Linked DNA regions of Homo sapiens: all the other regions are linked to region 4. The links are contacts of gene promoters, found by promoter capture Hi-C in blood cells and fetal thymus (Javierre and others, 2016). All regions are on one chromosome and are shown on one strand. The core of a region is centred on a gene start or on the middle of the fragment in contact, and the rest is flanking DNA. Distances in the headings are between cores, read along the strand shown.

Evidence for each region. Contacts are between HindIII fragments. The CHiCAGO score rates a contact against its expected background, and 5 or more counts as called.
Region 1: a fragment that was not itself captured here is called in contact with the fragment with the promoter of SLC46A3 in region 4 in 6 of 17 cell types (monocytes, total B cells, endothelial precursors and 3 more); the score reaches 5.6 in monocytes.
Region 2: a contact is called between a fragment that was not itself captured here and the fragment with the promoter of SLC46A3 in region 4, in 1 of 17 cell types (naive B cells). The highest score is 5.3, in naive B cells.
Region 3: a fragment that was not itself captured here is called in contact with the fragment with the promoter of SLC46A3 in region 4 in 1 of 17 cell types (neutrophils); the score reaches 5.3 in neutrophils.
Region 5: a contact is called between a fragment that was not itself captured here and the fragment with the promoter of SLC46A3 in region 4, in 3 of 17 cell types (naive B cells, monocytes and neutrophils). The highest score is 7.3, in naive B cells.
Region 6: a fragment that was not itself captured here is called in contact with the fragment with the promoter of SLC46A3 in region 4 in 1 of 17 cell types (monocytes); the score reaches 6.7 in monocytes.
Region 7: a fragment that was not itself captured here is called in contact with the fragment with the promoter of SLC46A3 in region 4 in 1 of 17 cell types (monocytes); the score reaches 5.6 in monocytes.

The regions. Positions count from the first base shown.
Region 1 is chr13:28,295,037-28,298,323 of GRCh38, forward strand. It overlaps PAN3 (poly(A) specific ribonuclease subunit PAN3), which reads left to right. Exons shown (of 19, transcript NM_175854.8): 19 at 1-299. Among named protein-coding and RNA genes, the nearest start is that of PAN3-AS1, 160 kb to the left of the region's middle. RefSeq lists a silencer at 1,278-1,436. The HindIII fragment of the contact is 3,295 bases long and covers 1-3,085 here.
Region 2 is chr13:28,239,491-28,242,594 of GRCh38, forward strand. The region is part of intron 6 of PAN3 (poly(A) specific ribonuclease subunit PAN3); the gene reads left to right. Among named protein-coding and RNA genes, the nearest start is that of PAN3-AS1, 100 kb to the left of the region's middle. The HindIII fragment of the contact is 801 bases long and covers 1,207-2,007 here.
Region 3 is chr13:28,405,499-28,408,765 of GRCh38, forward strand. FLT1 (fms related receptor tyrosine kinase 1) reads right to left here. Exons shown (of 30, transcript NM_002019.4): 11 at 282-396. Among named protein-coding and RNA genes, the nearest start is that of FLT1, 88 kb to the right of the region's middle. The HindIII fragment of the contact is 1,295 bases long and covers 1,303-2,597 here.
Region 4 is chr13:28,717,143-28,720,455 of GRCh38, forward strand. SLC46A3 (solute carrier family 46 member 3) reads right to left here and starts at 1,828. Exons shown (of 6, transcript NM_181785.4): 1 at 1,354-1,828; 2 at 668-880. The coding sequence starts at 856. The HindIII fragment of the contact is 12,183 bases long and covers 1-3,313 here.
Region 5 is chr13:28,333,281-28,336,496 of GRCh38, forward strand. FLT1 (fms related receptor tyrosine kinase 1) reads right to left here. Exons shown (of 30, transcript NM_002019.4): 18 at 745-849. Among named protein-coding and RNA genes, the nearest start is that of FLT1, 160 kb to the right of the region's middle. The HindIII fragment of the contact is 1,547 bases long and covers 646-2,192 here.
Region 6 is chr13:28,357,509-28,360,563 of GRCh38, forward strand. It overlaps FLT1 (fms related receptor tyrosine kinase 1), which reads right to left. Exons shown (of 30, transcript NM_002019.4): 15 at 46-177. Among named protein-coding and RNA genes, the nearest start is that of FLT1, 140 kb to the right of the region's middle. RefSeq lists an enhancer at 649-958. The HindIII fragment of the contact is 558 bases long and covers 1,051-1,608 here.
Region 7 is chr13:28,315,266-28,318,161 of GRCh38, forward strand. FLT1 (fms related receptor tyrosine kinase 1) reads right to left here. Exons shown (of 30, transcript NM_002019.4): 25 at 2,233-2,332. The region is part of intron 2 of LOC124903141 (a long non-coding RNA gene); the gene reads left to right. Among named protein-coding and RNA genes, the nearest start is that of PAN3-AS1, 180 kb to the left of the region's middle. The HindIII fragment of the contact is 8,639 bases long and covers 1-2,896 here.

The DNA.
Region 1 (3,287 bases), core at 188-2,687, 420 kb before region 4:
CGTGACAGATAAAAGCACAGAAAGGACAACCCTTGAAATCATGTAACGTTGGTCATTTCAATATTTTGTACCTGTTTTAAATTCTGTTAGTGTATTTACTTCATTGTAAATATTTTTGAGGGTACCTTTGTATTTTGCTTTTGACCTTGGTTCTGTGATTTGGATGTCAACAACTTCCCTAAAAAGCACCAGTGTGTTAGGTTCTAATGTCATGACCCAATTTGTGTTATTCATCTTTAATCCTGTTTTCAGTCTCTATGTGTACAGCAGTATTTTTAATAAAGAATTACAGAGATAAATTTGTCCTTTTCTTGCACGTGTTCATATAACAAGATGATGATTATCTTATGATTGGATTTTAAAAGATTGGTTATTTCCTCTGTATTTTGGAGGAATTTTTGTATTTGGATGAAATGGCAGCAGATTTATTCATTAATTTATCAGGTAGTCCTTAAGTCTTATCTACTGTGTCCTTGGATCTGTTCTAGGCACTAAGACAGATACAGGGACTTGGTATTTACAGAATGTATAGTTATACCCAAACATCTTAATACAATACATGACTAACAATGTAGTTTAGGAGAGAAGACTACTCACGAGAAAGCATAAGGGGTCTGCCATGTGTATGTCTGGTGGTAAAGTATTCCAGGTAAGGGAATGTTTCAGAGCCTTTGCGGAACAGCAGGGGAGCGAATGTGGCTAGAGCCAAGTTAAGTAGGAAGTGACGTCAGAAAGGTCTATAGGGAAGGGGTGTGTCCTGTGGACCATTTTAAGTATTTTGGCTTTTACCCTCAAAAGAGGAAGCCGTGCCGGGCGCAGTGGCTCACGCCTGTAATCCCAGCACTTTGGGAGGCTGAGGTGGGCAGATCACGAGGTCAGGAGATCGAGACCATCCTGGCTAACATGTTGAAACCCCCTCTCTATCAAAAATAAAAAAATTATCCAGGCGTGGTGGCAGGCGCCTGTAGTCCCAGCTACTCGGGAGGCTGAGGAAGGAGAATGGCGTGAACCCAGGAGGCAGAGCTTGCAGTGAGCCTAGATCGCACCACTGTACTCCAGCCTGAGCATCAGAGCAAGACTCTGTCTCAAAAGAAAAAGGAAGCTGCAGGAGGATTTTCAGCAGAAGAGTAACATGATAAGACATTTAAAAAGGATCACTCTGGCTACGACGTGAACAGACTGAGGGAGGAAGTGAGCTGTTGACATGGTGGGAAACTGACAGCATCCCAAGTGAAGGATGTTGGATTTTAAAACCCATGTCTTTTGAGTTTTGTTGGGTTTTTTTGTTTTGTTTGAGACGGAGTCTCACTCCATCGTCCAGGCTGGAGTGCAGTGGCACGATCTTGGCTCACTGCAACCTCTGCCTCCTGGGTTCAAGCGATTCTCCTGCCTCAGCCTCCCGAGTAGCTGGGATTACAGGCATCCGTCACCATACCTGGCTAATTTTTATATTTTTTGTAGATACGGGGTTTCACCATGTTGGCCAGGCTGGTCTCAAACTCCTGACCTCAGGTGATCTGCCTGTCTTGGCCTCTGAAAGTGCTGGGATTACAGGCATGAGCCAAAGCGCCCAGCCATCTTTGAGTTTTAAAACCCACCTGCGACTGAGCACGGTGTCTCACAGCTGTAACCCCGGCACTTTGGGAGGCCGAGGCAAGTGGATCACCTGAAGTCAGGAGTTCCAAGACCAGCCTGGCCAACAGAGCTGGTCTGACAAGAGCGAGACTGTCAAAAAAAAAAAAAAAAAAAAAACACCTGGACTAGGGTGGTAGCAGTAGAGGTGGTGCAGAGTGGCTGGACTTCAAATAAGGTTTTAAAGGTAGAGCCATCAGGGATGTCCTGATTCACTGGATGCGGACAAAGAAGAGAGAAGTCAGGAATGACTCTTAAGATTTTGGCTTGCTGGCCAGGTGCAGTGGTTCATGCCTGTAATCCCGACACTTGGGAGGCCAAGGTGCGCAGATCACCGGAGCCCAGAGTTTTGAGACAGGCCTGGGCAACATAGTGAGACCTTGTCTCTACAAAAAGTAAAATCAGCCAGGCATGGTGTCACGCACCTGTAGCCCCAGCTACTCAGGGGGCTGAGGTGGGAGGATTGATTGAGCCCAGGAGGTCAAGGCTGCAGTGCACCGAGATGGAGCCATTGCACTCCAGCCTGAGCGACAAAGTAAGACCCTGTCTCAAAAAATATTTCCTTTGGCTTGATGCTCACAGGATAGAGGATTCTGCTGAATTGGAAGAGACTGTTGTAAGAACAAAGAGTCTACAGGGCAGGGGAGGATGGAGAAACAGGAAAAGACAATTTGGGAGTTTGGTCTAAGGCCCATTAAGTTTGAGATGTTTAGTACACATTTGTTCTGGTTATTTGCTTTGTAACAACTCCACCCTTAATGGCATAAAACAAGCATTTTATTACATTCAAGGATTCTGTGGGTCAGGAATCTGGGCAAGACACAGCAGGGAGGCTTGTCTCTATGCCATTGTGATTGGGCCTCCGCTGGGAAATTCCAATGGATGGGGGCTGGAGTGACTTGCGGGCTGGACTCAGCTGGCTGCTGTCTATGGGAGCACCTTCACATGGCCTCCATGTGGCTTAGGTTTCTCCAAGTATGGCTGCTGGGTCCCTGGCGGGAACTGTTGAAGAGTGAGTGTACCAAGACTCAGGAAGTGCATGATCTTTTCTGACCTGGCCTCCAAGCCATGCAGTGTCCCTTCTTTCACATTGCATTGATCACAAGTGAGTCCTAAAGCTAGCTCTGATTCTAGGGGAGGGGACATTGCCAAAGGTCGTGTGCCAAAGGTCGTGTGAGATGGGAGATAATCTTGCAGCTGTCTTTGAAAAATAGAATATTTTTGAAAAATACAGTACAATATCTTTGAAAAATACACCTGTATTTGAAAAAAATACAGTCTGCTAGAGCATCAAGGGGAGATGTCAGGTTAGCACTTGTGTATATATGAGTTTAGAGTGTTGCAGCGGGCAGGAAGAATCTCTTCTGTCCATGAAAGTCATCATATGGGTGTCATTGAAAGCCCTGAGATTGGTTGAGATCATGAAGGAAGTTGGTATAGACTGAGAAAAGAAAGCTTCAAGGGCAAGCCCTGGGGTAACTAGAGCAATGTTCAAAAGTCAGGGAAAAGAGGTAAAACCAGCAAAAGAGACAGGTAGCCTATGAGATGGGAAGAAGAAAGTATCATGTCCTGGAACCAAACTGAAGTTGTTTTTGCGAATAAGTGTCAAGCTGCTGAAGTGTCAAATAAGAATGGGACTGAGAGTTAGCCATTGG
Region 2 (3,104 bases), core at 357-2,856, 480 kb before region 4:
GGACCCAGTAAGTTTGTCCTTTCCACTTGGGTGTTGAAAGAGCTTATGAGCAGTAGCTGTTCTGATTTTTGTTGGTTGTTTTCTCTAGGGAACAAGCTACCCTCTGAGTCAGCACTGGACTTGAAGATAAATCCTACAATTCATGAAACTGACTGATTCGACTAAAGGATGGATAGTTTGGGCAGCGTTGGACAGCTCTATGAGGGGTCTGTTTGTTTAACTGAAGGGATTGTTGAGTTCAGCAACTTTTAATTCCCCTAATCATAAGGGGTTGCTGTTGTGAAAACAGGGTTTGTGAAGGAATCAGTTCTGGCAATTAACATCAGTATTCTTACTGACTTCGTTTTTATTTTATTGTCAAACTTCTTTAAAGTGGATAAATTTTACTGCTTTTTTTGCCAGCAAGAATTTGTATGCACTGAGAGGTCAGCATAGAAGCTTTGCAGTCTACTTATGAATCCAAGTTTCTTTTTTTAAAATATATGAGGTTATAAACATTTCTCTCAAGTAAACTTTTTGACACTTGGATTATTTCATCTTTACAAAGGTAGTATGCATTTGTGGCTTAGAATTTTTAAGATTTAATGGAACTTAATTTGAGTAGTAAATATTTTGCTAGTTTAGTGAGTATATTTTGGCTTATGGCTAACATGCTTTTTAGATAACTTTTATTAATAAGATATAATGAATTTTTACCCTAAAACTTTACAGGCTTTTAAAAATCAATCTTTGAGGAAATGAGATTAATTATAATGTTTAATTATATGGATTTTTAATCTGAAACATGAGGGATTTAAGCTACAGAATAAAAAGCTTCATACCCTAATTTTCTGGGCCATAATTATACAGGGATACAGTGGATTGTCTTTTTGAAGATAAAACATGCTGTGGGATGACATAGAAAATCCCAAAGCTGTGTCTGTGTGATAACGCATATAATTTTGTTATTTAAGAATTAAAAGATTATAAATGTATAAATTTTATTTTAATCATTTGAAAGTTGGGATGGTTGAAAATATATAGGAGTAATGATAGTATTACCTAGCCAGTATTTGAGTAGATTCTTTAAATATCTTTGATTGATTAGGCTAGAAGTACAAATAGTCATCCATCATGGCAGAGTTTAGAAAATTGGGCTTTAGACAAATGAGTTTGCAGAAAATTCAACTTTCGCTCCATAGCTGCATGATTCTTATTACCTTGTTAAGCTTGATACTTTTGATTAAGAACATTTTTTGCCAGATTTGATTTTCTCTGCAAAGGTTAATTTGATTGAAAAAATGAAATTATTTTGAGGAAAGAAGTAAAGGCTAGTATTATTTTAGTGTCTACTTTCTGATTCTGTTGATTTTTGGATGGTGAAGTGGTTGGTTTTATATTGTACACTCTATTCTGGGATGAGATCCATGTTTAAAACATACATATGCCTATGTCTTGTTTGTCCCAGTCATATCTTTATTTGTGTCCACTTTTAAATTTTCCTTTTCGGCCGGATGTGGTGGCCCATGCCTGTTATCCCAACACTTTGCTGGGAACCGAGGTGGCAAGGTTGCTTGAGTCCAGAGTTCAAGACCAGCCTGGGCAACATGTTGAGACCCTGTCTCTACAAAAAATACACAAATGAGCCAGGGGTGGTGGCATGTGCTGGTGATCCAAGCTACTAGGGAGGCTGAGGCAGTATATGATTGCTTGAGCCTGGGAAGTTGAGGCTTCAGTGAACCATGTTGGCGCCACTGCACTCCAGCCTGGGCAACAGAGTGAAACGCTGTTTCAAAAAAAGGACAAAAGAAAGAAAAAAGAAAGTTCTCTTCAACAGAAGGCTGTACTTGCATATAGTATATAGTCATCTGGAGCTTGGGAATTTTTTTGACTAGGTTGCATCAATTGCAAATAATGCTGTGACATTCAAACTTTAATTGCAATAGTAATTATGCTGAAATACCTTCCTTAAACTCAGTTTCTTCTTCTATTAAGAAGAGCCAGTGATAGAAATGGTCTGAGGAATAAAGCTTGTCTCTGAAGCACTGAAATAACAAGTGGTGGTGGCAGGGGTGGGGTTGTGAGGGAGGCTTCGTTGAACTCAACTTTGGATAGTTTATTTATTTCTACTCTTTGAATCATAAGGAAAATCAAAGAAGAGACTTTATTAATTCTTAACATGTTTAGGACTCTTAGAATTTGGGGATATAAACACAGTGTCTGTGTTTTGGGCTATAAGTGTGTATTCTTTAATTTTGGGTGATTTGGGGAATTTGGTTAAAAATGAATAAGTATTTGTAGTAGTAGCGCATTTTTTGTATTTTGATTATGATTACATAAGTTCCTTAGTATGATTTTTCTCATGGCAAAAGCCCCAGATATTGGCCTTGTTATTAAGAAGATAATGCTTCACATGTTCTCAAGTCATCTGTTCAAGATGACATATGTTTTATTAATTTCTAATCTAAATCATTATCTTCAATGTAGTTAGACATGACAATTTATTATTGAGGATTTAGTTTGGTTATTGGAACTTCATTAAAACTATTTGTATAACCCATGTTTACCCAGATTGCATTGACCTAGAAAAAGTAACACATACTAGAGTAATGAGACTTTGTCAGAAGAATGTCCTTCATCCCAGCTTCCTTCACATTCCTCTATTTCTCTCGTAGTGTCTAGTGGGTTGTTTCATGTTTGCTTTTAAATAGTATTGACTGACATATGTGCTGCTTGATAGCATGATCATTTACTTTTCCTCTGCCCCCAGATTTTTGTTATACTTAGTACTTCTTCCGTGATGGCCTTTGTCAGTGCAGGCAATTTGATGATGATAGCTATTGCTGTATTTAGCATCTTGGTTGTTGGTACCAAGAAAAGAGGAGATCTTCACCTCTAATCCATTTTTTTTCAACAAAATTATTTTTTTGAATAATTTCCCATCTACACAGTGTGCCATTTACATGTGTAGATGGGAATACAGAGAGGATTAAGGCACAGTTCTTCCCCATAGAACAATTGAATCACATGTGGTATTTGCAGCAAAAAGAAGAACAAAGTGATGGGAATAATTTTTAGATATGGGTGTCAAGAAAATCTTCATCAAGAAGGTATTTCAGAAGGAT
Region 3 (3,267 bases), core at 700-3,199, 310 kb before region 4:
ATAGGCAGCCAGGACTGTGAACCACCAATGTGGACCAGTTTGATGTTCAAGTGGACAGTGCCATCTCTACCATTAGGAATGAGTACTCATTATGTTGGAACTGGTAGCTTGAGTAGTCTCTGTGTGTATCTCCATGAAGACATAGCTCAGATATTGTCTTTCTTCTCTCTGAATTTTTGTTTGAACATTTAAATTACTTCTGGTGCCAATAAACCTAGAATTGGGAGCTGAGAGTGTATTTGTGGAATAAATATCCCAGTGCGCATTTTTACAAACAATACCTTATTCTTTCCTTCTATTATTGCCATGCGCTGAGTGATGCTCTCAATTCTGTTTCCCATGTTGCTGTCAGCATCCAGGATAAAGGACTCTTCATTATTGGAACAAAAGTCACACCTATTAAAAAAAAAAGTTGTCACAATGTGGCTTTACAGCATGGTTCAGTCAATGGGGACAGGTGAAATGAAAACTTGGTGTAAGTCCTCAGATAACAAAGTCACAAATTTTATGTGTGATCTTCTTTTCCTTAGATTTTTTCCTATATTCATCCTCAAAACTTAAAAATAGCAAATATATTTGGCTGATACTTGAAAAAAGCCCCACACTAGTGTGTCACCATACATCCTTTTCGTTGTAAATGTTAATATTAAATAAAAATGCATAAATTAGAAAATTTAGTATCTAGATTTTAGTTTTTAGTGGAAGTAACATTCAAACACGGAAAAAATGAAGTTATGTTAATGAATAAAAAACTCAAGGAAATCATACCATTTTATATCTATAAAAGGCTGGCTTTTAATCAGAATATGCAGTTGGATGGCTAAGTTTTTCCAGGGCTAATTAAGTGCATATGGAAATCAACATCATGAAACAGTTATTAAATTCAGTCTCTCTCTGCTCAAGTTTTGGGGAACTGTTCAAGCTCTCAGGCCTCAAGTGTTTAATTATAAAATAAAGGTGTTGATGTTATTTATCTTTGAGGTCCATGAATTCTCTCTCTGTTTTAAACATTTCACCATTTTGCATTCTGACTTTCTGGACTAGAATTTTTTTGAGCAGAAAGCTTGCTGGTCTCTAATTTGCACATGTCTTGGGCAGATTCTACAGATTTTTTAAACCAAGAGGAATTTTATTATTATTATTATTATTATTATTATTAATATTAGAGACAGGGTCTCACTCTGTCACCTAGGCTAATGTGCAGTGGTGCAATCATAGGTCACTGCAGCCTCGAACCTCTGGGTTCAAGCAATCCTGCCGCTTCAGCCTGTAGCTGGGATTATAGGCTAAGTGAAATTTTCAAGCTTCATTTCCAGAAAAAAATGAGTGGTTCATCTTTAGCAGCCAAGAGCAGGAATGACTTATGTGAGAGGAAAATGAGAGGCTAAAGTCAGTGAGAAAAAGGGGAAGACAGAAGGGAATGTGGTCAGAAAAACGTTCCGTTACTATTCCTCCCTGGTCCTTGAGCTGAGAAGGAACTCCAGAGTGTTAAACTATCGCATCTGCAGGGGTACTGGCCCTGTAACGTCCTCCTGCAGAGTACTCACCACCTTTTAAGTGCTGACTTAATGGTTCTGAGTCCCCGCTGGGCCAACAGCTACAGGAGGACAGGGGACAAATCGACGTATTCACTCTGTCCCCATAGCTAAGCAGGGCCCGAGCATGCCGTCGGCGCCCCATAAACATTTGCACACATGCAGACAGGCACAAGGTACCCGAAGTTGTTTTTGCTAAGAGTTTCTACTTTCTTTAATTGTTTATTATTATCAAACACACCGATAAGTAGAGAGAATAGTGTGATACACCCCCATATACCCGCCACCCAGATTTCACAGTTATCAAGATTTTGTCACATTGGTTTCATCTACCCCTTTTTTTTCTTCTGTATTTTATTTATTTATTTATTTTAAAATTTTTCTAGCCTGGCCAAATGAAGGATTTCTGTGTTTTAAAACAAATCTCAGGCATCTTGTCATTTTAGCCCTATGTACTTCAGTGCATCTCTCTAAAAAATGAGCAAATTTTTCCAATATAACCACAACACTACTTTTATACCTAAGAGAATTAGCAATAATTCCGTGGTGGTGTTTGCACCTAAACCGTATATCAGATTTCCCCAAATGTTTTTAAAGATGTCTGTCTTACAGTTAGATTACAAGATTTAAAATTTAAAAAGAATGAATAAAAGGTGACCATTCCTCAAGGAATTTCTGCAGTTTTTACCAGGTATAACCTTATAATAATCATGAGGTAAAATAAATGAACATTTTAATGCTTATTGATAAGTAGAGTAAACTGAGCCAAAGAGAAATTATGTACTTTCTCCTTTATTAGAAACATCTTAATGACAAAGTTTAAAAGTCATTATATGAGAGTCACTTTGCCTTATTTTTTCATTATCATATTCTCCATTTTCTAGACTATAACATCCCCATGTTAATCTTGCGTTAGACTTGCTATCTTTCACACACTCGTATTACAGGTATGAGTGTATATAATGTGCACATATACACATGTGTATACCTAGATTAGACATTTGCATATGTACTTGGGATTGTGACATCAAACAGCTAAAGTTCTCTTGTATCTGGAAGACAAGCTTTTAGATTGTATTCCTTTTCCCCCAAAGCAAGGAAAAAGATCGGGGATACCTTAGTCAAAGATCTTAATTTCATACTCTTGGGCTTTAGGAAATGCAAAGAAATATGTTAGAGTAAGGCAAGCCTGGGTGTTTCTCAAGGGAAATACAGTCTGCTATCTGAGTTCACTTGGGGCTGTTGACCTCTGACACCCCACACCTCCCCCATCCCACACCCATGACTCTGAGGGCAGTTACTAAGGGCACAAGCCCTAGTATGGAAACTATAGGCCAGACTTATTGCCAGCTCTTCCACATAAAAAGGACAGATTCTGTGGCTATTTTCTAATTTAGGGGCTGTTATTTTTCCCTCTTTGTAATTGGGGCTATAAAAATAGAATGTCATTTAGAAGCCTTACTATATAACAGCACTTGAAAAGAGATTTAGGGGGAGGGGAATGTGCCTAAGCCTTAAGAATACATCAAGCTCTTAAGGAAGTAGATTGTGCCATGTTTGAAGATGCAAAGATAATCACTGTGCTGGGAACTGTCTTGAGGGGGGAGGAAGCCGAACAACAAGAGGAAAGCAGCGTTCGCTCCTGATTTCGCACAGGAAGTCCACAGCACCTCCTGCCAAAGCGAGATAAGAAAGCTCCCATGCACTATTCTGGACAAGGCCACTGTTATCA
Region 4 (3,313 bases), core at 578-3,077:
AGGAAGAAAGCCTCCTTAATATCTGGCTAAACATCTTTGGTGTCAACGGTGGGTACTCCCCACTCCAGATGTCCCCACACAGCTGCTCCTCAACACGTGAGAGCCAAGGCTGATTTGATACCACCACCAAATAATAAATGCTCCTCCACCCCACCCTGTGACAGACACTGGCTCACAATCTTCAGTGATGGGCCACTTTCTAGAGTCCCTGAAAGCTGGGACATGCAGAAACAGTAAAAGGATTGGGGAAGAATAGAGCAAGTGAGAGACAGAAACACCATGTTTCAGCCACCCCTGTCCACCAAGTAGCTCATTCCAGCCTGCCCTGCCCCAATTTTCAGACTTTTTTTTTTTTTTTTTTTTTTTTTAGGACAAAGCAAGGAGACAGCCACAGAAGAGATGACACTGTGGTGAAATTTTCCGAGAGAAAGGAGAAGAGCTAGTGTCACAGAGCAGGAGGGTGTTTTAAGAAGAAGAGGCAGATTTGAAAGGTGTCAGGAAACTTCAAATGAGGTGAGTTCCCAGTAAAGGCCATTAGGTTTGGGATTTAGGACTTTGATGGCCGCCCTAGAGAGACCAATGGATGATGAGTTCACGGTCCTCTTTAACTCAAAGCCCGGTATACATTCCCATTTTATTAAATACTATGGATATTGTAATTTCTTACCTCCTGGAATGCAAAAATTGGGCTGCTTTTGTTTTTTTCACACTCAGAAATATTGCTATCAGATGAAAAAGTGTAGTTGCCAGTTTCTTCCCATATTCTCCGATAAACATATTGCGTTGTCAGTGGACCGGTCAAAGTCATAGCAAATGCACTAAGGAAAATGGCAGGTTCTACAAATAAAATCTTCATATTGCCTGGGTAGGTAGCTGTATTCTATAAAAAGTGAAAACGGAGAAAGATCATCTGTCTCATCCCAGAGGCTAGATATTCAAAGATGGGTAAGTTTGAGCAATTTTGTGGAGTAAATGTTTAAACAAGCAAACTAGAGAACAGAAAAGGCAGTAAGCACTTTCTCAGAGAATAACTTTTACTTTGGAGTAGAGTACTCTGTAACAACCTGAGGCTGCCATGCTTTCCATTTTTATGAGTAGGACATTGTAGGACTCAAGCCGCCTTTGAGTCTTTGAAATCATAAACTGTCACCCATCTTGGTTAGCCAATGATCACAGTACAGTTCCCACACTGTATATTGCCAACTGATTTTTCGTAAGTTCAACAATGAGGTTCCTTTTGGGAAGCGACAGTTGCACAATTGTTATTGTTATTTTGCTGCGTATTAAAAACGGACAGGGAGGGGGCGTTTTAAAAAGCAGCTCCCAATCGAAAGGGCCTTATTTTTAACTCACCCCACGATTACAGTCTTCCTGCCAGGCTGGGTACAGGTCGGGCCGTGCCAGGGGCTGTCGCCTCGGATGCCCTGCGCTCGTGCGCGCCCGGGTTCAAGGGCAGCCTCTGGACTGGGGCAACAGAGGACGCGCCGGGGACAGTAACCTCGGACTACGCGGCCGGCGCTGGGGTGGGGAGAGTACTTTCCCGTCGAACTCGACCAAATTACGCTTGTCGGGGAGTCTCAAGCGTATTGTAAAGCAAACCTCGGCAAGCGCACTTCCGCGTCCCGAGTGACACCTGCAGGGTTCTCCGGCAGCCCTCGGCTTCCCCGCGGCCCTGCGGACCTCGGCCTCAGCGCGGCGCGGCGGGGCGCGGAGCAGCTGCTCCTTCTGCGCAGTGGACAATCGGCCAATCGGCGCCTCCGTCGGTCGGTCAGCGGCCCTGCCAGCGCTAGGCGATGACTCGGCCGCAGCCAGCTGAGCATCGCTGTCCGCCGAGGAGGCGGGGTCGGCTGCCGCGGCGCTGTCACTGTTCTACCCGGCTCTCCTGCGATTGGGCCCAGCGGTCGGTGCCCCAGCGGCGATTGGTCCACCCGGACGTCACTCTCCCCTGGAGAGTGGCTAGTGGATCGTGCACCCACCCTCGGAGGCCCGGAGTGGATCCCGCGCGACCGAGCAGCCACTCAGCACCGCTGTTGAGTGGTGGGCCGCGCCGCAGGCTCAACAGCTCTGGAGTTGCAAAGCATTTCTGAATCCGAATATCCTTTCTCATAGAAACACATAAAACAACAGTTGGAAAAGTAACATGTTTGGGCTGTAGCCCCCAGCAGGATCCCGGTCGGCCCGCAGAAGAGGGGAATGGGCGCAGGTGGAGGGCATAGGAAAGAGAGTGCTCAATGCAGAGTTAGCGGAGGGTTGGAATGTGGTCGCTGGCTTTTCCTGGGGAGGGGAGGGGGGACTTGGGCAAATCGTTAAATTTTCATGAACCTCCATGTCTTTATCTGCCACGTGGGGATGATAAGTCTTACAGGGTTGTCTAATTAAACACTCAGCATGTATACACAACACAGCCCCTGGACATAGGAGGAGTTGTCAGTGCTCTCCAACACACCCACCAGGAACAACTTGTAGTAAAAGAATTGAGCTACTACTTCTTGAAGCCAGGAGAAATGCATGCATGAGGAACCGTGGGGGCATCTCAGTAAGAAGGTGTTAGAATTTACTATGGGCTTGCGTTATGTGATTTTGGGAAGAGTTCAAGAAAGCAAGGCCTTACTCTGGATTGGTTGCTGTCAGGAAATGGCAGTAATTCTATGATTGGGTATCTTAATAAGTCTTATTTAGGAGTCAAGACTAGACAGAGGCTAAAGCCATGAATGATAAAGAAGCAACAGTCACACATATTTGTCATTTTTGTGGTTTAGACAGTGCCTAAATTTTGTCCGTGTTCAGACAAAATTATGACGTGGTCTTGTTTTTGTCTTGATCATGGTTACAGAATGCTCTTGTCTGACTTTGGTGTTCCGTGAAATTGTTTTCATTCGACAGAACACCATGGTCCAGAAAAGTTCTTAGCAACACCAAGGCCCAGCTGATAGTTCCAGCACCTGGATGTCAGAGCTGCTTTCTCTTCCTCAGCACTCCTTAAATGACAGTTGTGTCACTGAATGCAGAGTTAAACGTCTTAGGTTTGAGTCCTAACTGATACTTAGTAGCTGGTAACCTTGGACTTGCCACTTAATCTTACTTCCCAGCTTCTTCAAATCAGCATTTATGAAGCACTTGTTATGAGTTTCAAACAATGGAGCATGGATATTGGAAAGAAGATAAACAAACATGAGTAAGATACAGTTTGCAAGGAAGACATAATATTTTAAGTTGCAGTACTTTGTACTAAGTACTATATTATTCTAAACGGCACTTAGAAGATGTCCTTTTTTTTTTTTTTTTTTTTTGAGGTGGAGTCTCGCTCTGTCAC
Region 5 (3,216 bases), core at 169-2,668, 380 kb before region 4:
TTTCAGTTCTGTTGAGTTGAAGCATCATAAAATTCCATTACAGATGAGGAAATGAAGTATTTTCTACACTGTAAAGGACCTGTGAGTCTTTGAGACATGTGGTTTACACAGCTTTCACTGATTTTCATTTTCAATCTGTCTTTGGTGTTGGGCATAAGTCACTGTGTGATTTGGTTCTACCTCCCAGTGCTTCACAGAGTAGTAGTATCTTTCAACACTAGAAAGATAATTCAGGTTTTTAAACTGCTAAAGAGGAAATGTTTTATGGCTGAGGTAGTTAGTATAAAATAGTTTAGAGTTCTGATCAACTCAATTGTTCTAGCTTTATAGTTTTACTTTATAGTCAGGTCAAGCCCAAGCAAAGCCATTGGGATTTAGAATGTGCTGCTAAGTTTCCATTACAACATCACAGTAGATCATGCCAAAATCTGAACCTGCAGTTACAATGGGCTTAAGTCCCTTGTTGTCTACAGTCTGTGATGTGAGATGAGAAAGACCTTTGAGGTGACAGAGATCATTTTCCTATGGACAGTGCTGGATTGTTCCATTTACAAGGTTTCTTCTGAGCTCGTGCTGGCCTAATCTAAAACTCGTGAGCAAAGAGGCCTCTAGCAGTAGAAGAAAATTATGTGTCCAGAGCAGAAAAGCTTGTGTCTGTTCCCAGGCTATATCTAACTTGTACCAACATTTAGGAAATGCAAAATGGTGATGGGTCAGTTGAAAGCCAAACTACAGCATACATACCTTTCAGCATTTTCACAGCCACAGTCCGGCACGTAGGTGATTTCTTAATGCCAAATGCTGATGCTTGAACCACTTTTCCAAAAGCCCCTCTTCCAAGTGATTTGCCTGTAATGAAGAGAAGACACTGGTTTGTTTGCCGAGGCAATAGGGTGAGTTTAAGTCTTTTTCAGGAAGGAAATGCCTTTTCCTATGTGTGCATGTGAGGCATGGAATCTCCAGTGAACTAACCCTAAAAGAGACAAAGTAAGGGACTTATTTCTGGAGTCTCTTCCTTTCAACTCTTAACTCTGTTCCTGAGGCCCCACATCCTTCAAAGATAGAGTAAGTCCCTAGAAGGCATTCAGTGAAGGTAGATGTCCAGTTTCCTTTCCACAGCGTTCTCCCGTAGGAGAGATGGGACCAAGTCCCGTGTAGTTTCTTCCATTGTTTAATAACATTATGACCAAGAAGACTTCCCTGTGTGGAACCTAAGCTCTTTTTCTTTTTCCATTTACAGTCATTTTTCTCTCATCTGTTTTCAGCAAAAAGGGAGAAATAGAAAATGGTGGTTACTACTGTGGATTATAATAATGCTCATAACTTTAAAATAATCACTAAGTCATTTATCCGACTTCCCTACCAGGCAAAATATTTCCAGTCTTTCTAATGTGTCTTAGGTGAAGATTACAAATCCTCGTGGTTCAGCACAGGAGCCTGGTCAACCACTGGTAGTGATTTGTTTCAACCCCAGAGAGGTAGTTGCTAAATGCAATAACTAAGCAAGGTTCCTTTCATGGTCCCCATAATGCTATGCTATAATGACTGTTAATATGTTTCTTTCCCTATCCTAGAATGACCCAGGGAGTCCTTGCCCCCCTTTACTCTGGGGGGCAAGGACCATGTCTGAATCTTCCCAGAACCTAACTTGGTGCCTGGTGCTATCTGTTATTACTGAATATTGCTGCAGAATGGAGAGTGGTGTTCAGGAATGTGTGGGTTGCCCAAAGCAAGTCTCCTAGTCATAGGTAACTAGAGGGGCCCATGGGATGGAGACCCTGAGATTGATGCCCTTTAGGGAGGGCACTCCCTGGAGTACCTAAGCTGCCTTTTATATCAGGGAACCTCCTTTTGCACATCAGGAAACAGCTCAATAGAACCCAGAGAAATGGTGCACCTCCAGCATGATATACCCAAAGAAGAGTAAGTGAAGTAAGTCAGTCTTTTTTTGGCTTTTCTTGGGGGAAGGGGAAATGACAGAATACCACTGGTTGGTTAAAACTATTATAAATCCTGGCAGTTAGAGTGTTAATTTAACACAACCCCTCCTTTCCCAACCAAGTGCTCTTTCTTAGACCCGTCTGATAATGTGCCTTCAGTTAATGAACCTTCTTTCCTCCCTTCCTTCCTCATTACTCCACTCCCTTTCCCCAAAGGGCATTTTTAAAAAATTTTCTTGTAGTTTGTAATGAAGCTTTGCTTCTTCCTCATCATATTAGAACCTTTCTACTTTTATGCCCAACTACTCAGTGACAAAAATGTCTTTACCTTGCTCTGCTTAATGTCTTCTACTACCCACCACCCCAGGTGTCCAGTTAGGATGTATGAAAATTTCACTTATACCAGTGTCATCATTAGGGCCTCTGTGTGGCTGTCTGCAGGGACATGCTCTGCATTCAGAGAGAACACTGGGGAGACGACACGTTTCTCTTTTTGTGAAACATGCTCCCGTAGTGATTACTAAATGACATTCCTCCCAGAGCATGCAACACGGGCAGAGCTACAGCCTCTGCTTCCTTCTTCGCATAAAATTGTTGAAGAAATAGACCAGGATGGGGACCCTCGATTTGAAATAAAAGAGCCTCCAGTGGATCCTGAAAGTGCTACATCTGAAAATCCGGTGTGGGAACAGCGCTGGCAGATGCCTTCTCTATACTAGTAAAAACTGGTGCATTTTGGTTGGAGGTTTATTCCTTGCTTTATTTGGGATAAAGTATCAATGTTTTTCTTCCACAATGCCTTCCACCATCTAAAAAGAAAAGTGTCCTGAGCCTGAGAAATATCCAGATCTTTTCTCCTTACACACCTAAGACCCTTGCATGTTTGGGGCAGGTGGCATCCTTTGCACTTTCCATAGTTTCAGCCCCCACATCCCGTCTTAGCCGTCACAACACACTTTGTTTTAACAAGTGTTTGGGACTTTGCTTCTTATCATTGAGAATAAACTGGCTCTCATTTGGCTTCCCTCAGCCTTTTCATTTATTCTCTTGGAAGCTGACTGCTGCCTCATAAAACAGCATGAAGCTGTTATGGGCTCCTTAATCATCTGATGTGTTGGAATCCTTCTGCAGACCCATGGTTCCAGTTTCAGGGGAGCCCAGTTGCATCAGACTTGACCTCACCTGATCTTTCTTTTCCCTTAAAATTCTCCTCAGTGTTTCCTGGAATGCCACTAACTAGCTCGGAAGTGTGCTAGGTCATTGCCATACAATGCAA
Region 6 (3,055 bases), core at 80-2,579, 360 kb before region 4:
AGATGTCTGACCAATTTCTTGTTGCTTTCTTAAGCAGCTGTTTACCTTGAACAGTGAGGTATGCTGAACTTTCCACAGAGCCCTTCTGGTTGGTGGCTTTGCAGTGATAGACACCTTCATCCTCTTCTGTGACTCTTTCAATAAACAGCGTGCTGCTTCCTGGTCCTAAAATAATTCCTGAGGGGTGAGAGATGTTTAGATTAGTGGGCCTGGATGACAAACAAAAAACAGCTACTTCTGTAACACAGCCTTCTTCCTATCATTATGCATTCAGACAAGGAAATCCGAGCTCTAGTGAACCTGGGGCAGGGTTGCTTATTTGTTTTCTCTGGGTCCAGGCTTTCTTTTTCTTTTCTTTCCTTTTTTTTTTTTTTTTTTTTTCTGCAGGCTTTCTAATAGCACCTTCACCACCCAGCAGAGCTGTGATCCCCAGCTTCGGAGATGCAAATCCACCCACCCTGTAGAAAGAAATGTGAGGCAGCTGCCATGCCCAACTTGAAAGTTGAAGATATCAAGAAGGCAGCATATCTAATAATAACAACTATCATTGACTCAACGCCCTCTGTGTGCTCGGCACTATGTGACACACTTTCATACCTTGACATTTACAACCAGCCTGTCAGCTAATATTGTCTTCCTTTTACAAATGAGGAAACTGAGATTCTGTGAGATTAAGTAACTTCACCAAGAGCATGCAGTTTGACTGAAAGCACATTTGTGACATATGGGTCAAAGGAACTAATATTTCATTTGTCATAAGGCCTGGTGAGTCAATATAGCCTAGTGATGAAGAGTTTGCCTGGGCTGTGTTTTAATCCATGCCTTAGCGCTTCAAGCTTTGTCACTTAGGCAAGTTACTTGATCTTTCTAAGTTTCAGTTTCCTTAATCTTAAGATAAAAATGAAAGTAATTCTTACTCTATAGTAAATGGCAAGCCCATGGTACATAGTAAGTGCTCAGTAAATGTAAGCTTAAGGATTACTACAGAGCACAGTGTAGTGGAAGGAGTCCCAAGAATTTTCAGACCCCTGAAAGGCTTCAAGACCTTGAAGCTTCAATACCTTGTACTATCACCAAGGGTCTGTTGAGTATTTACTCTGCCATCAGTTCGTGTTACAAAACAAACAGCAGGCTAAGATGTGGGCAGGCTAAGACATGGTATCTGTTGAGAAGGAAAAATTAATTCCTACCAAACACACACATTTACATTCTCTCTCTCCCACACATGCTCAACACATACACTCACACACACAAGCCAACAAATAGAAAATGTTTAATGAATGAGAATGAGTGAATACAGCACAGTATACCTAATTAAGTGGAAGGTCTGGCACAGGGAAGGAGATCAGTAAGGAAGGGTGTACTTGGGGAAGGCTGCATAGAAGAGGTGGGCCTCGAGTTGAGGTCTGAAGGATTGTCAGAGGTGAAATGAGAAACGGAAGCATGAGAAATGGCATGATGTGGAAATAAACAGGAATTGAGTACTTGTTCCAGAATAGTGATAAAACAGGCCTGGCCAGACTATAGGCTGTATTTCATTAGTTTAAATAGTTTGTATTTCTCTTATGAAAGATGTACTCAATATAGAAAAGTTGAGAAATATTTGAAAGCTTAAAAAAAGAAAATGTAATATTATAAAGCTATGATAATCAAAACAGCATGGTACTGTTATAAAAACAGATCCATCAACCAATGGAATAGGCAAGGGCCCAGAAATCAACCCAAACATCTATGGTCAACTGATTTTTGACAAGGTGCCAAGAACACACAATGGGGAAAGGACAGTCTCCTTAATAAGTGGTGTTGGGAAAACTGGATATCTACATACAGAAAAATGAAAATGGACCCTTCTCTCATCCCTTATATAAAAATGAACTCAATATGGATTAAAAACTTAAATGTAAGACCAGAAACTATAAAACTACTAGAAGAAAATGTGGGGGAAAAACTCCACGATATTGGTCTGGGAAGAGATTTCTTGGATATGACCCCAAAAGCACAGGCAACGAAAGCAAAAATAGGCAAATGGGATTGCATCAAACTAAAAACCTTTTGCACAGCAAAGGAAACAATTAATAGAGTGAAGAGACAACCTACAGATTGGGAAAAAGTATTTGCAAATCATACATCAGATAAGGAGCCAATATCCAAAATATACAAGGAACTCAAACTACTCAATAACAAGGAAACCAATAATCCTATTTAAAAATGGGCAAAGAAATCAAATAGACATTTTTCAAAAGAAGACAGATGGCCAACAGTTATATGAAAAAAATACTCACCATCTCCAATCACAAAAATGTAAATCAAAACCAAATGAGGCCAGGTGCAGTGGCTCATGCCTGTAATCCCAGCACTTTGGGAGGCCGAGGTGGGCAGATCATCTGAGGTCAAGAGTTCAAGACCAGCCTCGCCAACATGATGAAACCCAGTCTCTACTAAAAATACAAAAATTAGCGGGGTGTGGTGGCGAATGCCTGTAATCCTAACTACTTGGGAGGCTGCAGCAGGAGAATCACTTGAACTGGGGAGGCAGAGGTTGCAGTGAGCGAGATCGTGCCACTGCACTCCGGCCTGGGTGACAGAGCGAGACTTTGTCTCAAAAAACAAGAAAAAAACCAAATGAGATAGCACCTCACACCTATTAGATTAGCTATTATTAAAAAGATAAAAGATCACAAGTGTTGATGAGGATGTGGAAAGAAGGGAACCCTTATACACGGTTGGTGGCATTATAAATTGTTACGGCCATTTTGGAAAACCATATGGAGCCTCTCAAACAACTAAAAAGAAAACTGCTATATGATCTAGCAATCCCACTACTGGGTATCTACCCAAAGAAATTGAAATCAAGGATGCTGAAGAGATGTCTGCATTCCCATGTTTATTGCAGCATTATTCACAATAGCCAAGATATGGAGGCAACCTATGTGTCCATCAATGGATGAATAGATTTTTAAAATTTGGTGTATATATACAATGGAATACTACAGCCTTAAAAAATAACAGGAAATTCTGTCATTTATGACAATATGGATGAACCTAGAGGACATTA
Region 7 (2,896 bases), core at 7-2,506, 400 kb before region 4:
AATTTCAGGCCAGGCATGGAGGCTCACGCCTGTAATCCCAACACTTTGGGAGGCCAAGGCCAGTGGATCACTTGAGCTCAGGAGTTCGAGACCAGCCTGGCCAACATGGAGAAACCCCATCTCTACAAAAAAATATAAAAATTAGCCAGGCGTGGTGGCACATGCCTGTAGTCCCAGCAACTCAGTAGGCTGAGGAAAAAGAATGACTTGAACTCAGGAGGTGGAGGTTGCAGTGAGCTGAGATCACGCCACTGCACTCTAGCCTGGACAACAGAGCGAGACACTATCTCAAAAAAACAAACAAAAAAACCCAACTAAACTAATTTCATACTATTTAGAATTTATATGGAAGTAAAAATAAAACTTAATTTCATACTGTTTTGCATTTATTTTGATGTAAAAATATTGTTATTTAATAATAACAACTATTAGTGTAATTGAGAACTTTCTCGAGATTTTCAGACTATATGAAGATTGGAAGGACATATTTAATTCAAAGCATGAGTGGCCATATCAGAGAAGCATTTCTACTGAGGAACGTGGGGTCTGTTCCTAATTCATCAGCCGTGGTCTAGGGACATCAGTCCAGAGGCTTGGGTTCTAAATGTCTCCTTTGCTTCTCAGCTGACAGACGGCACATTGCTTCAGTTCTCGGCATCTCAGTTTCATTACTTGCTAAATTCAGATTACAATAGCTGCCCTGACCACCCCTCAAGGTCTCTGGGAACTTCAAATGAGACTATGTGTGGGAAAACACTTAGAAAATCATAAAGTTAATCATCTAGCTCTATCCCCAGCTCTCAGAAACAGGCCTTGCCTCAGCTCCCTGTACTTTTCTGATGAGGACACCACGCACCAGTGACAAGAACAGGTCCCCTCCCGCTTCCCTACGCTCAGGCAGAGCTCCCCAGCCCTGCTGTTGGGCCTGAGTCTCCTGTCCACCTCGTCCAGTTCCCCATCCTGGGTCTGACCTACCCTTACCCCGAGATGATGAAGGAAAGAGACAGTGACTTTGCCCTTTGGCCAAGCCCACACTTCCTGCATTCCCTCTGATTCCTTCTGAAAGGCCAGCCAGGGCTTCTGACAGGACCCCATTGTGTGGGTGGAATGGGAGGGCCCCTGCCAGTTCAGGAAAGGTGGTGCCGCCTCAGGGAGGCCCAAGTCCTTGTCAGCAGCTCCACAAAAGTGCAAGTGTCATCACATTCCTGCTCAGGCCTCAAAGTGCAAAACATCCACAAAGCCCCAGGAAAAAAAGTGTCCAAGACAGGCAAGCAAGTGCAATTTGCACAGTGGAGAAAGCCTCACATGGACACCCGAAAAGCCATCTGACCAGGCAGCTTCAGACAGCTGCTGGGCCTATTCCTAAAAGGTTCTTTTTTTTTTTTTTTTTTGAGACATAATCTCACTCTGTCACCCAGGTTGGAGTGCAGTGGCGTGATCTTGGCTCACTGCAATCTCCGCTTCATAGGCTCAAGTGATTCTCATGCCTCAGCCTCCCAAGTAGCTGCCACCAGGCCCGGCTAACTTTTGTATTTTTAGTAGAGACGGGGTTTCACCATGTCGGCCAGGCTAGTCTCGAACTCCTGACCTCAAGTGATCCGCCCGCCTCTGCCTCCCAAAGTGCTGGGATTACACATGTGAGCCACTGCGCCCGGCCCCTATTCCTCCCAAAGGATTCTAAAGAAGTTGTATTGCCCACAAAGCCTTCTGTGAAGCATAATCATGACATCAGGAAGTTCCCCTTTTCCTCTCCAAGACCTGTTCTGCAGACCACATCAACCCCCTCACGGGTGTTCTGTGCAGACACAGGACTGGTCACAAGACCAAGGTCTAGCCCTCCATCCCTGGGGCTGCTAGGCCTGTTTGGCTCCCACTCCGTGAGTGAGGCCAAGGTCTTGCATTCAGTTCCTGGGTGGTCTGTTTGTTTTGCCTGGATTCATACCTAGAAACTGAATTTCTAACTTCAGTTCCCAGCTAGAGCCCTTGAAAAGTCATGTCAGTGGTCAGGACAGGAAATAGGTAGGGATGGGTCAAGGGCCACGTGCCCCACTGCAAGAAAACACTCCCAGCATATCTGGGCCTGATGGGCTGAGGGGAGCATCTCTAAAGGAAAGAAGAACCTTGGCATCTTCCAAGACTGGGACTCTAAGAATCCATAAAACATCCCCTCTCAGGAATGCCCTGGTGAAAAGCGAGCTGTCAGATGGGGAGCAGAGGGCACCAAGGGCTCACATTTCAGGAGTAGAGTACTCAGGAGCTCTCATCCTCATGCCTTCCCTCAGGCGACTGCAAAAGTCCTCATCCATTTGTACTCCTGGGTATGGAGACCCACCTGCGGGAGACAATGTGGAAAACACAGGGCCTGTTATGGCTTAAGGGTACAAAAGACCAAGAGGGGACAATTCAGTGTTTCTTTCCTCCCTTTAAAGCTACGTTTTAGTAATAAATTCCCAGGGATTACAACAGATCTCAACATACCGTACAACACACAGAGAAGCTCAGCAAATCCTTGCTAAGGACACCCGCTTGGTTGGGTGGTCACATGGTGCGGGGCACCTGGTGCTCACAGGCTATTCCTATGGCTACTTCTGCCTGTGTGGTCAGAGGAAGGGGTGTCGTCTGAAGGGTCCTTGCCTTCTCCCCACAAGTAACTAAAGAAGTCCCATCATTAGAGACTCATCCTTTGGGTTAGTGAGCTTTTGTTTTTTTTGAAGAGACGGGTCTCCCTCTGTCACCAGGCTGGAGTGTGGTGGCATGATCTTAGCTCACTGCAGCCTCGAACTCCTGGGCTCAAGCAATCCTCCCACCTCAGCCTCCCGAGCAGCTGGGACTCCAGGTGCTCACCATCACCACACTTGGCTTGGGCTTCTTTTTAAAAAGCCAATAGACTTGGGAT